3 separate regions of the Homo sapiens genome follow, and regions 2 and 3 are each linked to region 1. Evidence: promoter capture Hi-C in human tissues and cell types (Jung and others, 2019). All regions are on one chromosome and are shown on one strand. Each heading gives the region's core, a stretch centred on a gene start or on the middle of the fragment in contact. The rest is flanking DNA. Distances are from core to core; before and after follow the strand shown.

Region 1 (3,200 bases), core at 19-2,518:
AGCTGCCTAGTTTAGAAAGTAGCTGCTTGGCTGAAGTAAATTCTTAACAAATTAGTCTCTTCTAGGATACACATTAAAATGAGTGGTTGGAATGGGAAGAAGACAGAACAGAAAGTCAAGAAACTCCGACTAGTGAGACTGAAGTGAGGCTACAATGGCATGATGGGTGCGAAAGAGATTGGTAAACTGTAAAATCCTTTAGAGACCGTGTGGCCCCTTCACTGTCTAGGCCAGTGGTTCTCAAAGGGTAGTGTGTGTCAGAATTACCTGGAGGGCTTGTCAAAACACAGATTTCTTGGCTCACTACTTCTGATTCTCTAGGTCTGGCTGGTGGCCAAGAATTTGCATTTCTATCAAGTTCCCGTGTGATGCTGAAGTTGCTAGTCCAAGGATCACAATTTGTGAACCACTGGTTGCTGGATGAGTAAAATCCATTGTGTCCACAGGAGGCATACAATAGACACTCAGATGGGGTTGTTATTATTACTACTCTCCATATCTTGGTAACCCCAACGTTTGCTCTCTTCTGCTTCCAGATTACTCAGCACAGTTTGGCTGAGATTTATGCAAAGAGAGACAGCATTCCCTTTCCACACATCTATATGTAGCAACCTCCTGCCATTAATACCCTTTCTTATTTAAAAGCTGCTTCACAGTTTGTAAGGAACTCTCACATACGTTATTGTGTTTTTATATGAAATTCTTCCCAATTTCTGAGCATAAATTATGCCAAGTAAAGTCTCATTAAGAAATAATGCACTTAAAGCGGGGGACGGGGCGATGAGGAGAGAACGCCCCCTCCCCTTGGCATTTGCAGCTCTGAATGTAGGCATAGATTTAACTCAGACCAAGTATCCTAGAGGGGATAGGTGTCTCCCTTATGGCTAGAAGGTGCAAAGTTAAGAGCCCCAAAAAGCAGTGATAATAAACATCCCTCTTGTGCTCCTTCTCGCCAAATAAAGCGAATGGGTGGAGGAAATCCTGGGCGAGCCCTCCTCGGCAGGGTCCCTCAAGCTGGAGCCGAAACTGCGACTCCCACGCCCGCCGCCCCCGCCCCTGAACTGCAGCCCGCTCTCTGCAATGCAAAAACGCAGCAGCATCGTCCTCCAGCCCTCTCCTGGGGGATCGCACGGTGCAACCAACCCCAAAAACGAAGCTGCGCGACGCCCCCTCAGCCCCGCGGGCTTCCCATTGGCCGGTTGCCGCTGTCACTCCCTCCTAGCCTCGCCTTCCCGCTCCCGGGCGGAGGCAGCCGGGCGGGGTAGGTTGCGCGCTCGCCGCGGGCTCGGGCCGCGGTCGCGGCTTTGCGGCAGGCTGCGCGTCAGGCGGGGAGCGGGGCGCGCGGGCCGGGGAGGGGGCCGGGCGCGCTGCGGGCTCCGCGGCCGGACCATGCGGGGCAGGGGCCGGTTGCAGGGCCGGGGGCTGCAGCCGGCGCCGATGGCGGCCGACTAGGACCTGCCCGGCCGGCTGCCCCGCGCCCCGCCTCGCCCCGCAGCCCGGCCGGCCGGGAGGGATGCGCTGTGCCGCCCAGCTCCTCTCCGTCCTGCCCATGCCCTGAAGCAGAAAGTTTGGGGGCCGGGGGTTGTCTCCCTTCTCCCTCCTGCAATGACTGCCCAAGGACTCTTGCTGCCCAGCCTCGACTGTGACCTGTCTTCGCTCCCCAGGTCGAAATGAACTATTCCAAGCTATAACCAAGGCTCCCCCTTCTCGCCCCTCCCTCACCCGCCTTTAAGAATTTTTTTTTTAATTCAAGAAATTGTGGTCTGCCATCTCCCCTCCTTGTTAATAATTTAGACCCCAGGCCTCATATGAATATAAGAGGGGGTGCGGTCTTCCCCAAGACGGCGCGCTGGAAGGACAGATTCCCCTTGCCGACCCACATACACCATGAAGAGGTGCAGATCGGACGAGCTGCAGCAACAACAGGGCGAGGAGGATGGAGCTGGGCTGGAAGATGCCGCTTCCCACCTGCCGGGCGCGGACCTCCGGCCTGGGGAGACCACGGGTGCTAACTCTGCTGGCGGGCCAACTTCAGACGCCGGCGCTGCCGCGGCGCCCAACCCAGGTCCCCGAAGCAAGCCTCCTGATTTAAAGGTGAGCGCAGACCATCCCCCCGGCAAGCCCAGCCCGCGACTTAGCTCTCGCCACCCCACGCAGAAGTGCTTTAACAGGATAAAAGTGAGGGGGGAAGCCAGGCAAAGGTCAGAGAGGATGAGCGGATGCTTTGCTGGCACCCCAGGGGGGACGTCAGGTACCATTTATGCCTCTGTCTTTCAGCTCCGTGTCAGGTCTCTGTGTTTGTTCCCCATTATTCAGCAAGCGTTTTAGTGACTCACCCATCCGAGATTGTTTGAATAATGTGTGAAGTGTTATTCGCAGACAAAGGGCTGGAGAAATCCAAGATGCTAACCAAAAAGTGGACAGCAGGTGACCATTAGTTTTCCTTGCTGAGTAAGTCTCTACCCATTGGGATCTTTGTGTGTGTGTGTGTGTGTGTGTGTGTGTGTGTGTGTGTGTGTGTATGTGTGTGAGACGGAGTCTCGTTCTGTCGCCCAGGCTGGAGTGCAGTGGCGCGATCTCGGCTCACTGCAACCTCCACCTCCTCGGTTCAAGCGATTCTCCTGTCTCAGCCTCCAGAGTAGCTGGGATTACAGGCACCCGCCACCACGCCCGGGTAATTTTTGTATTTTTAGTAGAGACGGGGTTTCGCCATGTTGGCCAGGCTGGTCTTGAACTGACCTCAGGTGATCTACCCGCCTCGGCCTTCCTAAGTGCTGGGATTACAGGCGTGAGCCACCGTGCCGGGCCCCATTGGGATCTTTGAGCGCTTTCCTGGATGAAGCTCAGTTTGCCGATCTGTGAAGGGGCGGGGGGGGGGGGGTGGTGGCGGGGGCGGGGGGGGAAGGTGGATTTCCTGCCGTTAGGTGGAGCCAGAGGTTAAGATAGTGCTTGGAGATCTCTGCCTGCCTGCTGAACCAACCCCCAGGGTGGAGAACTGACAGGTGGTGGAGCAGTGCTTGGGCTGGTTTGGGGCCTCAGTTCAAGTTGCATACATGCTGAGCCAGCAGCTAGAACCAGAAGCCGAAAGAACTGTTCACATGGAGCTGTTTATTTTCCGGCCTGAGGTTGCCGAGACAATTGGCGAGCTGTCTTGAATATATCTCTATCAATTAAAACAGCAGCTGAGATAAATAATGCAC
Region 2 (3,522 bases), core at 928-3,427, 260 kb before region 1:
TCCTCAGGGCCATCTGCTTGGCTTCCAGTCAGCTGTATACCCCACCCCCTTTTAGTACTGTCACAATTTGAACCCAGTTGCTGGAAGGGACCAGAGGTAGAGAGGGAAAAGCTCCTTCAGGACGCTGGCGTGATGATGTGTCCTCTTCTGAAATGTCTTTCTCATTAAGGAGTAAATGCCCACGAGTTTGAATTACCTAACATTGGAACTGAAGCCACTGATCTTGCTCCATAAGGAATGTCTTCAATCCTGCATAGTCTAGAGAGCTTCGAACCTCCAGAACGTTCAGGAGGACTTTCCTAGTCTGAAATGTAGAACTCACAGCTTGCACTTTCTCCTGTCCCAAGCTCCAATTCTAAATTCTAAAGCCTGAACCTCAGGGATGTTCTCCCCACCTCACTGAACCTCTCCCGGCATCCTCACAAGGAGGGCTTTCTGCCAACAGAGACATCTCCAAGATCATAGTGGTGCCCACCTGGGCAGACTCCAGTGACACATGTTGCTGGGTGTGGCCAGGGCCCCTTGGCCCAACTCTTTTGGTCAATGACCTCCTCCCATTTACCACCAACCTCCTGCAGCTTAGCTTCTGCCCAGGCAGCACTTTGCTCTTCCCCGGAGCTCACTAACACTCCTTTCTCTTTAGCTGCTCCAAGAGCTAGCCTGACCCAGAGTCCTGGGAACTGAGGATTTTGATAAGAAGGAGTTGTTCAAAAGATGGCTACAGGACACCACTAATCCTTCTCTCATTTGTTTGAAAATATAGCAGGACCAATTAATTAAAGTTCAAACCTAATTTCTTTAATTTTAAAAAAACCATTACTGTATTATTGCCTTCTTTTGCAGGATTTAACCTTTTTTTCTCCTTTTGTGGGCTGTTTTGTGTTGCTTGTTCTTCACTGAGCGTATTGCCTTTCCAAATATGCCGTGTCTTTCCTTTGCAAAAGACCACTGCTGCCCTCCTCAGTTGTTTTTCTGGCTTTGCATTTGTTTTCTCTCCCCGTTTATGCCTCTGTGACTTCTCCGTGGCCTCCTGTTTGCTCACCCTCTTTTGTTTGTTACAGACCACCCTTATAATGACTCGTCCTTAAGAAACCACCCTGACATGTACAGTGGTGAGTCGCAGCGGTAACCTTGGGAGTAACCTTGCCTGTGCTAACCCCAGTTTGCCTAACTTGACTGATACCACGTCATTAACTCCTGCTGGGTGGCAGCTGGCCCAGCCAGGGTGCCAAGGTGACACCTCCAGAAGGCTGCCTGCCAGGAGGCAGTGTGGGGGTTTGAGGTGGCTCACCTGGTGGTGTGGTCTCCTCTAACAGGCATGCCTCAAGTTGCTGAATTCTCAACAAGTTGTTCAAACCAGGGTAGGACTTCAAAAGAACTTCTTGAAAAGCAGGAACTTTTACTGAAAAAGTAGAAGCTTAGGAATCAAGAATGGATGAAGGGAGACTATCTTAAAATAGGTGAGTTCCATAGTGAAGAGAAAACAGGAAGTCTGGTTCCTATTGGTAGTTGAAAGAACACAGAAAGCTTGTTAGTATGTTCAGTTAACTCTAGATAGGAATTGCCTGCTTTGTAATCTCACCTTAGTTACCGGGAGTACCATTTCACAGTGAGGTCCCGTGTCTCTTTAAAATCCATCTGGGCAATAGGAGTAAGAGTCCAGCTCTGAGTTCTCTTTCAAGATGAGTATAAATGAGGTGAAACCATCCACCGTACCCTCTCACCTAGGCCTCTCTCCTCCTTTGGTAGTATATGCAAATCAAATGCCCACCAGTCCACACTTGCGAGACATGGAACAATTACAATGAGGCATGGTTTTAACTCATGACACAGCTGGTTGCTCAGTCTGATTAATAGGGTAATTGGCTATTTCCACACCTGAGTTACCCCTCACCATGGCTCAAGAATGTCTTATTTTCCCTGAGCAGCCAGAGGCACCATCATTTGCTGGCTCTGGTGAGGCAGCTGGCCCCCATCATTAGTTATGCCTCAGAAGCTGAGGCTGCAGGTCCTCAAGGGACCTCACTGTGGGCTGAAACAGATAGGAAGTGTCTGCACTGTGATGTGCTAATACAAAGGATGATGAGTGACTGGAGAAGGGGATGGGATGAGGGAGCGCGAGCCAGGGAGAGAGGCAAAGGCTCTAACTTGGCACCAAGCAGCTAGAACCACACTGAGATCCTGCCAAAGAGATTCACTACCCAAGGAATCAGGGGACCTTTGTTGGATTCTAAGCATTGTTTGTTTTCAAGATAATGGGGCCAACTACTATTGTGTTAAGAGCCCCAGAGCCCTGGTATGGAATGGGCCTTGTTCTAAATCGGATTCCAGGTAATCTGTTATAGGAAGTATTCTGTAAGCCTGAGTGCATCAGAGCCAGAAGTTCCCTTAGAGACCATCTGGTCTAAGTTCCTCACTTTATGTAAGATAAGCCATACAGGGGAACGTACACATAGAGTTGTTTTATCAATGGAATAAGTTTGAGTGATTCCAGTCACTTAAACCAGTTTGTGACCATTGATCAAACTATTATTGCAAGAGAATGAGTGGGACTTATGAGATCCATCCAGGACTATGAAACAAGCAAAGCTTACAAGAGTTTACCTGGAGATTGACCCCTTGTCCTCAATCCAGGGTAGGACGGAGCTGACCCAAGTATGAAGCTGCTGGAAAGGATATAAAGTCAAAGGGAGACACATTTTGAACAAAAGACAACTAGGCTGATGCTTCTAGCAAGAAATCAAAGGGAAATGGAAGGAAGGAGGATGACTTCTTTCTGGAGTGCAGGCATCTGGACAGAGAGACTTGATGAAAAGTGCCCAGGGCATCTGTCTGTTTGGCTCTGAAATATGGCACGTCTCTTTTGTAGCAGGAGGGCCACCCCATACTTCTATTTTGTTTTAGTGATTTCTAGAGTGGATTGGTATCCTCTGAACACTGCTAGGTGCCCCCTGACCTGCTGAGTGGCAGGAGAATCTGGTCTGAGATTGTAACTTGCCGCTTAGGATTCAGCCAGGTGAGGAGACCAAGTGGTTAAGAGTGTGTGCTCTGAGGTAGACTGCCTTGAATTAAATCCAGGGTCCGGGACATACCATTGAGTGATGCTGAGTAAGTCATTTAGTGTCTCAGAACTTTAATGTTCTCATTTGCCAAATGGATGTATTACCTGTCTCATAGGATTGTTGTGAAGATTAAACAGGAGAATGTGCTTATGGTTCCTAGTATGTGTTGGGCACATTCTCGATACTTAACAAGTGTTACCCATTACTGGTTTTAAAGGGAATGGTTTAGTGTTGACTGTATCCTGGATAGTTCTTCTATGCTTCTGAAATTAAGAAGGACAGACAGAACTTAAAGAGAAGCCAAGGGGCAAAAAGCAGGTGCAATTATAGGAAGAAAGTACCATAGAGGGAGAAATTGTAGGGCAGACCAGAGAAACAAAAGCTGTTCAAATCCTCAGCTGTGCTGAGAACTGCATAAGAAGAAAAGCTCCAACTACTGCATATGAGGTTTGGGTTAAAC
Region 3 (3,377 bases), core at 652-3,151, 280 kb after region 1:
CCTGCCTCTACAGTGTCACCTCCACCCCAGACTTTAAGTTCTGACCTCATGGAACTGTGGGTCCATATTCTGTCACCCCTGCACTCTGCACAAGGGATTACCCCTCCTGGAAAAAACAGGGAAAATCCTTCCTCCTCTCTCTTGTCCCCTCATCCTGTAACCCTCACCTCAAGCAGAATAGCTCCTCCCAGGCATCCGTAACACTAAGCCTCCTCCTATAGCATCCTAACTGTTTGCTTCCCTGCCGCATTACACCAAGAGCTTCTTGAAGGCAGGGACTGGGTTATACTCATCTTATGTGCCCAGAGCCCTGGCTATCATTTGGCACATAAGAGATGTTGAGAAAGTGTTTGTGGAGACCTCTTGACTTCACCCCCCTAGTTCCTTGAAATTCTACCCTTTGGCCCCACTCTCTCTAATCCGCCAGTAAACAGTTCCTTGGCCATAGTCCTTCTCCCTTTCCCTCCCTGCCCCTTCCAAACCTCTTTATGGCCTCCTGCTCCCCAGGCTTCTCACCATCCACTGGACTACAGAGCCAGGAGGTTGCTGCACACCTAAAGGCTCTGGATCCATGCACCCCGACAACACTTGGCAGTTTCATTTTTAGGAAGTGCTGTGCCCAGGAAATCTGCATGCCTTGGCAGAGAAAGCGAGGTAAAAAAAAAAAAAAGAGTTGGGAGGCCCTCTGTGAGATGTCAACTACCCACAGGTCACTTTCATGCATGGGCCCAGTGTCTTCCTTCATTCTCCTGTCTCCAGCTGACAGTGGGACCTCAGGCCCATGTCTTCCAGAAGGAAACTGTTCTATTCTCAACAACTCACAGTCCCCAGGGAAAGGGTTCAGGTAGAAGCACATGTACACTGTGGAGCACCCCCTCCTAAGGAGACTTTCCCTGTGGGAGACCCCAGACTGCAGCAGCCAAGCCCTCTGGTAGGGCAGGGGACACAGACTGCCTTGATGAGGTGCCATAGAGCCAAGGCACACCTCCTCTCCTCACAGCCCTCAGGAGGAAGCAGAGATGAGAGGGGCCTGGCGGTGGGGCACTGTGCCCTTCACCCCCATCCCCAGATTTTTGTTTTGTTTTTTTTTTTGATCCTTGAAGTCAGATGATGTGGGTGCAATGGCCATTGGCCTGAGTTCTAATCATGGCTCGCCATGAACTCTTGTGGCACTTTAGGCCAGTTCAATTGCTTTGCTGGGCCTCAGTTTCCCCTTCTGTAAAATGAGAGTGCCACTAGCTGAACTAGCCATTCTGTAACCCTTCTTGGATGATTCTCAAATATCCTGTGGAGTTTAATTCCAAAAGGACAAGTTGAATTATCCTTCGGGGAGGGAAATGTGAATGATGGCTGGTAACAAGGGCTTCATTCAGGTCCTGGAGAGGTGGGAACTTTGTCCGGAAAGGTAAGTGACAAGTCCCACTGGATAGGGTAGAAGGGGAGCCCGAGGGCTACTATTGTCAAGAAAATGACCACCAAAATCTGTCCATGCACATTCGTTCCTAGGGCGCCAGGTACAGGGAGGTACCTAGGAGAGGTAGGAGCACCGCTTTTAGAGACAGGCAGGCACTCTCAGTGTACCCCTGGCGCCTTGGTGTCCTGGGGTGATCCAGTCCAGAAGGCCTCATCCCCTAGCCAAGGCTCTCAGGGCCGGTTTTAGAAACGAAACAGGAAGAGGCACTTGGACCCTGGTTCCCAGAGTGGGAGAAAGGGGTGGGCACCCGGGCAGAGGGAGCCCTGGGGATTGGTAGCGGCTGTGGGCAGGGCGGGAGGGCCGGGGGCGGAGTCAACTTGTACATGTGAAAAACTCTGGCGGGGGCCGGGCATTTTCCTTCCTCCTCCTCCTCCTCCTCCTCCTCCCTCCTCTTCCCCACCTTCCTCCACTCCCTCCCTTCCCCTCCCCTTCTACCTCCTCCTCGGCCAGCTCAGGTTGCAGCTTCTCTGGGGAACTGCTCACCTTTCCGGAGCAGGGGAAGCTGCCCCGTGCCCGGGAGGGAGCGGGCGCACCGCGGCCCCCAGGACACGCGCTGTGAGTCCCGCGGGCGGTGCGCCTGGGAGGAAGGGGGAGGTCGGAGGAGCGGGCACCGCGGCGCCGGGTATAAGGAGCAAAGGTAAGCGGAACGGCTCTTAAAGGCGCAGTTTTGCTTTTGCCCTGAGGCGAGAGGTTGGAGGGAAATACCGGAGCGGCGAGGGGAGAGCAGAGATCACGAGGCGTGATCTGTGTGATACTGTGTTGTGTGTTGAGGGGTGGGGGGTGCCCTCGAAAGGCCACTCGTAAGTTCCAGGTGCTTGAGAGGGAGGGTTATTTTGCAATCTCAGACCCCGCGCCCCCTTAGGGAGTCTCCATCTGGGATCACTTTGGCCCCTGGGCTCCCGTCTGAACCCTACAAAGCAAAGTTTTCCACCCAGTCCGGAACCAGGCGCTTTCTAAGCTCCCTTCATTCTGGGAAGGGCAAGGGTCAGGAGTCTCCAGGGACCAAAGGACCCGAGAGTGTGGGGCCACATCGCTGCCTTGAAGGGCTTCCTGGGCTCTGGTGAACTTTCCAGAGCGGCAGGCAGGGGGTGGGAGGCCGGAGCCCTGGGAAGAACGTGGAAGGACACGTGAAGCCCTGCAGGTCCCAGTTCTGGGGGAGGCAGGGGTCTGGGGAATGCTGCTGCTTCTCTCTTTCCACCCCGGAAGACCAAAGGGGCAGTGCCCCCCTCCACCCCTCATCAACAGGCGACAGAGGGTTAATGCAGCAGAGGGAAAGGAGGCTGGGTGGGGCCGGGGGGAGTGGGCGGTGACCTGTTGGGCTAAGGAGATGTGCCTTGAGGATTCTGCTGTAGTTGAGGGACACCATCAGGAATCTGAAATCCAAAATCGGGTCTGGACTGGAGGCCTCTGTTTTCGCCCTGTGGGGGGCGGGGATTCCCTGAAGGTGTCTGCAGACCTTGTGCTGGGTGGGAGTTGGGCTGCAGAAACAGTGAGGGGTTTTCTGTGCTGCAGGGTCAGCACCCTCCTAGGCACCAGCCCTGCCTCTCTTCATTCTCTCTGGGCACCTCCCGGCAGTCGGGGTGGGAGGATTGACACTGTGGGAGTGAGAGGCCCTGGAACCTCTTCCGCGCTATCTGCTACTGTCTCCCCTTCTTCCCCACCCCTAGCCCAGCCCTCGGCAGTTCCCCAGCTGTAGCCTGGGCCCTGTGACTCACTAACACCACCGGCTTGCCCCTCCTGTGTCAGCACCCAGTGAGCTTCGGCATGTTCGCGTGGCATTCCCCACCCGGGCATGGGCATGCAGCACATTCCTGGACACGGGCCTGAGAGGATGCCTGGAGCGCCTGGTGGACTGGCACGTCCTCAGAGATCCCCTGCCTTTAGCCTGGCCTTGGGAGGGGCC

The links. Contacts are between HindIII fragments. The study calls those that stand out against the background at their distance.
Region 2: a fragment that was not itself captured here is called in contact with the fragment with the promoter of TMCC2 in region 1 in 4 of the 25 tissues and cell types used here (IMR-90 fibroblasts, aorta, dorsolateral prefrontal cortex and 1 more).
Region 3: a contact is called between the fragment with the promoter of CDK18 here and the fragment with the promoter of TMCC2 in region 1, in 1 of the 25 tissues and cell types used here (hippocampus).

What each region holds. Positions count from the first base shown.
Region 1 is chr1:205,226,678-205,229,877 of GRCh38, forward strand. TMCC2 (transmembrane and coiled-coil domain family 2) reads left to right here and starts at 1,269. Exons shown (of 5, transcript NM_014858.4): 1 at 1,269-2,094. The coding sequence starts at 1,888. RefSeq lists an enhancer at 920-1,059 and a silencer at 1,190-1,369. The HindIII fragment of the contact is 10,382 bases long and covers 1-3,200 here.
Region 2 is chr1:204,961,047-204,964,568 of GRCh38, forward strand. All of the region lies in intron 8 of NFASC (neurofascin), which reads left to right. Among named protein-coding and RNA genes, the nearest start is that of CNTN2, 80 kb to the right of the region's middle. The HindIII fragment of the contact is 5,464 bases long and covers 1-3,522 here.
Region 3 is chr1:205,502,768-205,506,144 of GRCh38, forward strand. It overlaps CDK18 (cyclin dependent kinase 18), which reads left to right and starts at 1,902. Exons shown (of 16, transcript NM_212502.3): 1 at 1,902-2,029. The HindIII fragment of the contact is 16,948 bases long and covers 1-3,377 here.